2 separate regions of the Homo sapiens genome follow, and region 2 is linked to region 1. The links are contacts of gene promoters, found by promoter capture Hi-C in blood cells and fetal thymus (Javierre and others, 2016). All regions are on one chromosome and are shown on one strand. Each heading gives the region's core, a stretch centred on a gene start or on the middle of the fragment in contact. The rest is flanking DNA. Distances are from core to core; before and after follow the strand shown. Region 1 holds the start of H2AC1 (H2A clustered histone 1). Region 2 has its middle 5.4 kb from the start of SLC17A3.

Region 1 (2,717 bases), core at 124-2,623:
AACTTTTGAAGCATATACTCTTCCAAATTTCTAAACTTCAAATTATGTTCGGCCTTCTAGTCCCATTCCTGCCTGAGTCTAACACTAGTATCTCACCATCACATATGGCGTAAGGCTTCTTTTTGACATATTTTACTTACATTTTAAGAAATAATTCTATTATTCTTTACAAAGTACGTGAAACCACAGGTATCAAATATATATGCTTACCCAAATTTTAAGATTAACTTACTTACATGCCACATTTAATTATGAGTATTTCGTGAAACTACCATATTTGAAAGGAAATTCTCTAAAATGTACTTTAACCAGCCAGACTGATGTTACCTGGATTTAAACAGGAAGATTACACCTCTCCTGCTTGTAATGCAATTTTCACTTCCATGTGTAACCCTTAACATAACTAACATACATAAATCTAGTTTGAGATAGTCTCGCTCATGTCACCCAGACTGGAGTGCAGTGGAGCAATCAATCTTCGTTCACTGTAACTTTCGCCTCCCGGACTCATGAACAACCCTCCCACCGCAGCCTCCCGAACAGCTGGGACTACAGGCCTGCATCACCAGACCCAGCTAGTTTCTGTGGGGACAGGGTCTCAATTATGTTAACGGTCAAGCCCCAGGCTTGAACGACCCTCCCGCTCCAACCTCCACTGAAGTGCAAGTACTGACTGCTCACAAGCGTTAAGCCACCTCGCCCAGTGACATATATAACCAAAATTACCTCAAACTAATGGCCGATGGAACGCTCCTTGAAAATTCAGTCCCCGTACATTCCCGAAATGCGCTTAAACGGGCATTTGTGACAGGCAAGTAAGATGGCTGGTTAACAGCAGTAACGTTTTGTAACGTACAGCCTTTTTCTGAGACGGTAGGTGGCTCTGAAAAGAGCCTTTTGTTTTTTCTGACACAGAAGTCTTTTTACCAATGACAACCTTAAGTTACTTGCTTTGGGCTTTATGGTGGTGACTCTCAGTCTTCTTGGGCAGCAGCACTGCCTGAATGTTAGGCAGGACTCCGCCCTGGGCAATGGTCACGCCGCCCAAAAGCTTATTGAGTTCCTCATCATTGCGGATCGCTAGCTGCAGGTGGCGGGGAATAATGCGAGTTTTTTTGTTATCGCGAGACGCATTGCCTGCCAGCTCAAGGATTTCTGCTGTGAGATACTCTAACACTGCCGCCAAATACACTGGTGCGCCTGCCCCTATCCGCTCTGCATAGTTTCCCTTACGAAGCAGACGATGGATCCGGCCTACGGGAAACTGCAAACCCGCTCTAGAAGAGCGAGACTTAGACTTGGCGCGTGCTTTTCCTCCCTGCTTCCCTCGTCCAGACATCTCCTCGCATCAAATTGCAGCAACACGAGAACCACATTTCTAGGGCTGCTACTGGGCCTATTTATAGTCTGACTGAGGTTGGCATTTGCTATCTGATTGGCTGATGGCCGTCTACCCAATCAGAAAGTCGTACTAGAATCGCCTCATTTGCATTCACGCCACTTCCCATTGTCCAATCAGATTTTGGATACCGAACGCGGCGTTTGAGGGCCGTGCCTATAAATACCGCATCTTTCATCCTCCAGTTCTGTTTGTTTACTTGGCGAGACTTGGAGCTGAGGTCATTTGGAGCTGTTTAATACTGAAGAGCTGTTGAGCACTGGAAAGTGCTGTGTAACCCTGGAAAAGAACCGTGTAACGCTGCAGAAGTGTGTGGTAGCTATGCCGGAGGTGTCATCTAAAGGTGCTACCATTTCCAAGAAGGGCTTTAAGAAAGCTGTCGTTAAGACCCAGAAAAAGGAAGGCAAAAAGCGCAAGAGGACCCGTAAGGAGAGTTATTCTATTTACATCTACAAAGTGCTAAAGCAGGTCCATCCGGACACTGGCATCTCTTCGAAAGCTATGAGCATTATGAATTCCTTCGTCACTGATATCTTTGAGCGTATAGCGAGCGAGGCATCACGTTTGGCTCACTACAGCAAGCGCTCCACCATTTCTTCCAGAGAGATTCAGACAGCAGTGCGCTTGCTACTGCCGGGAGAGCTGGCTAAACATGCTGTGTCTGAGGGCACCAAGGCTGTCACTAAGTACACCAGCTCCAAGTAAGCCTGCTAAGTAAACGTCATTTCTAACCCAAAGGCTCTTTTCAGAGCCACTTAAACATACTGAAACAGCTGTGGGCTTCGTTTTTGTGTAGTTTCTAACCGTAAGGGTTTTTTTTTTTTTTGAGGCGGAGTCTCACTCTCCCAGGCTGGAGTGCAGTGGCGGAATCTCGGCTCACTGCAAGCTCTGCCTCCTGAGTTCACGCCATTCTCCTGCCTCAGCCTCCTGAGCAGCTGGGACTACAGGCTCCCACCACTACACCCGGCTAATTTTTGTATTTTTAGTAGAGACGGGGTTTCACCATGTTGGCCAGGATGGTCTCAAACTCGATCTGGTGATCACCCACCTCGGTCTCCCAAAGTGCTGGGACTACAGGCGTGAGCCACTGCGAATATATCCAAATCAGCTGTGGGCCGAGGGTAGACGAACTAGTTGCAGCAAGACAATCCTTGCTAGGCACCGTGACTCGCCTGTAATCCCAGCACTTGCAGAGGTCGAGGCTGGCGGTTCATGAGGTTAAGAGACGGAGACCATCTTGGCCAACAAGGTGAAACTCCGTCTCTACTAAAAATACAAAAATCAGGTGGGCGTGGTGGCGTGCACTGTAGTCCCAGCT
Region 2 (2,717 bases), core at 76-2,575, 150 kb after region 1:
ATAAAAGATGTAGAAGATCGTTACGCAGAAAATTGTAAAGCTTTATTGTAAGGTATTGAAGTCGAACTAAATAAAGAGACATAACATTTTTATGAACAGGAACATTCAAAAATGTAAAAATCTCGTCTCTCCAGACTAATCCATATGCCATTCCAACCAATATTCCAAAATAATTTTCCATATAATTTAATTTACTAAATATATCCTCAAATAAAGATGGTGGTTATCTCTTTCTTTGTAATCATTCTTCTACTCTGCCCCTCACCCCCTTTTCAGAGACTCCTTGTAATAAGGCCTATTTAACACTAAATACGTGCTGAACACTATTCTAAGCACTTTACATACAATAACACTTTTACTTCTCATAGCAAACTTCTATGGTAGGTACTATTATTATGCCAGTTTACAGAGAGGTTAAGTAACTTGCTAGTAAGCTACGGAGTCAGGAATCCAACCACCCAGAAAGTCTGGCTGTTGTGTCCATTCTCTTACCCTCCAGACTATTTCATCTGTTACGCAAACATTGAAACCAACTTTCAACATCAGTTTCCTATAAAATTTCCCTCTCATTATTCTTCCTTTTGTATCTTGGCATTACTGTGAATTTCACCTGTATCAATTTTCTTCCAAATTCCTGAGATCACCTGCCTACCTTCCTTCCCTTCCTTCCTTCCTTCTTTCCTTCTTCCTTCCTCCCTCCTTCCCTCCTTCTCTCCTTTCCTTCCTTCTTCCCTGCTTCATTTTTTTCTTATTCTTTCCTTCCTCTTTCCCTTCCTTTCTTATTTCTTTCCTTCTTCCCTAATTCTAAGGATATTTGTCATTTCTAAGAAAACCTTCCTTTTCACATATCTAATTTTTGTTTTAAGTATGTCAGCATATATTTCTGATATTATTCATTTATTTATGTTAAATATTTATACTAACATTCTTCTAGTTTGGAGAGGGGTTCTAGTTTTTCTGTTAATTTTGGTGCTCTGTCTTGAGGATGTTGAGTTGTACTTGTCTATTGGTTTTTGTTACAAGCGATGGTGTTGAATTGCCAAATAGAAGAATACCTTTCCAAAACTTAAATGTTATTTACTACTGAAGTTCAGGTTAATGAACTTTCTGATTCTGAGAACTTGTCTTAGCAGATGAGGGTGAATGTTGGTTGTGCTGCCGGGATGGGTGTATGAGGTGCTGGCATTTTGAATCTGGGAGCTCCATGTTCTTACCTGAAACATTTTTATTTCTTAGCCCCTAGTGACCACATCAATCACTTAAAGTGTAGCTAGATTGCAAGTCTTAGCTTGGAGAAAAATGAAAAGGGTAATTTCTCTCTTATTCTCCTCTTTTTTATTTTATTTTTTCCCTCTGCCTCCTTTATGAAGGGGAGTTTGCTGCGGCTTGACATGGCTTTTCTCAGCTTCCAACATTTACACCAAAAGCTCTTAATTTGGCTCAGTTCCTTTTGATTCCTCCCTCTCCCACTCAGACTCTTATTTTTCTCTTGGTGCTAAACCAGGATGAGGAGCAAGATCATGTCAATGTTGTTACAAGAGAGGATTAAGGGCCAAACCTATTTATTGGCCTTTGTATTGCAGAGTTTAGTTTTTATTGTACTCAGTTGTGGCTTCTATTTGTCAGACACCTGTGCTTACAAGTGATAGAAGTCCAACTGAAATGGCTTTGGAAGAGAAAGAAAGAGAAAAAGAAAATATGGAGACTGAGGTAGGTCACAGAATATAAGAATGAGCAGCTGTAACAAGCACAGTTCCAGGGACCAGAGACTGGAATTAAATCTCTGCCCCAAAATAAATGAAGACCTTTGGAACTCTTATTTCAGCTGTTCTTTTGCACCTTCTCCCTTCTCTTAAATCTACTCCAAGAGGCAACAGACAAGTCTGTTGGCAGTTTTGGAGTCTCATTCATCACATCCATGAAAGCGAAGAAAAAGCAGCTGTGTTCAAAACCTAGGAGAGGCTCTTATTGGCCCAGCCCAGAGTACTTTATTACCATTTGAACCAATTGTTGCAGCCTTGTGGGTGCAGTGCCAAGTTGTCTGATTGGTCACTCCCATCATCCCAATGATTTTCAACCTACAGGTCATTACTCTTATCAATTTAGCACCTCTTATCAATTTAGCCACTATGGTTTTTTAAACAAGATGGATGAGGCCCAAATAGAATGGAACAGATCATAGTGCATCCCACTTAGTAAGAGTCAGGATTATTTTGTGAAACTTTCGATGCTGCAACACATGTGTTTACATATAAGCCTATATATTAGTATTGCAGCACACTTTAAAAATGTATATTTTTTACTCTAGGTCAGTCATACTCCAAAAGGGTTAAAATTCTTCTCTTTACTGCACGTTTTATGTATTTTATTTCTATTGATAATGCCTCTGATTCCCAGACATAATGCTTTTGGTTGGACTTTCAAAAAGGACGGCCTAGAAGATAATTGTTCAACCATGTAATTGCTTCACTTTTCATTACCCTGTGGGTTTATTGGGCAGCTACATCTATTTCTCCTCTGGACTCCAAAGTCAAAGGTTGTGTTTTGTACGCATGCTTCTTTCTTTACTCTAGGTCAAACTCTATTCCACAGTCCAGTCTGGGAACTGACGTAAGCTTCTAGTTGTTAGACAATGGTAGCCATCAAAGAAACTTAAGGTGATCTAAAGTTAGGTTTAATAAAAGTAAATTTTAGACTAACATCTGCCATATGTACAG

The links. Contacts are between HindIII fragments. The CHiCAGO score rates a contact against its expected background, and 5 or more counts as called.
Region 2: a fragment that was not itself captured here is called in contact with the fragment with the promoter of H2AC1 in region 1 in 1 of 17 cell types (megakaryocytes); the score reaches 5.7 in megakaryocytes.

The regions. Positions count from the first base shown.
Region 1 is chr6:25,725,189-25,727,905 of GRCh38, forward strand. It overlaps H2AC1 (H2A clustered histone 1), which reads right to left and starts at 1,374. Exons shown (of 1, transcript NM_170745.3): 1 at 875-1,374. The coding sequence starts at 1,339. The coding sequence ends at 944. It overlaps H2BC1 (H2B clustered histone 1), which reads left to right and starts at 1,589. Exons shown (of 1, transcript NM_170610.3): 1 at 1,589-2,157. The coding sequence starts at 1,721. The coding sequence ends at 2,104. It also overlaps a transcript of SLC17A1 not described here. The HindIII fragment of the contact is 12,318 bases long and covers 1,050-2,717 here.
Region 2 is chr6:25,878,256-25,880,972 of GRCh38, forward strand. No RefSeq gene overlaps it. Among named protein-coding and RNA genes, the nearest start is that of SLC17A3, 5.4 kb to the left of the region's middle. The HindIII fragment of the contact is 2,575 bases long and covers 39-2,613 here.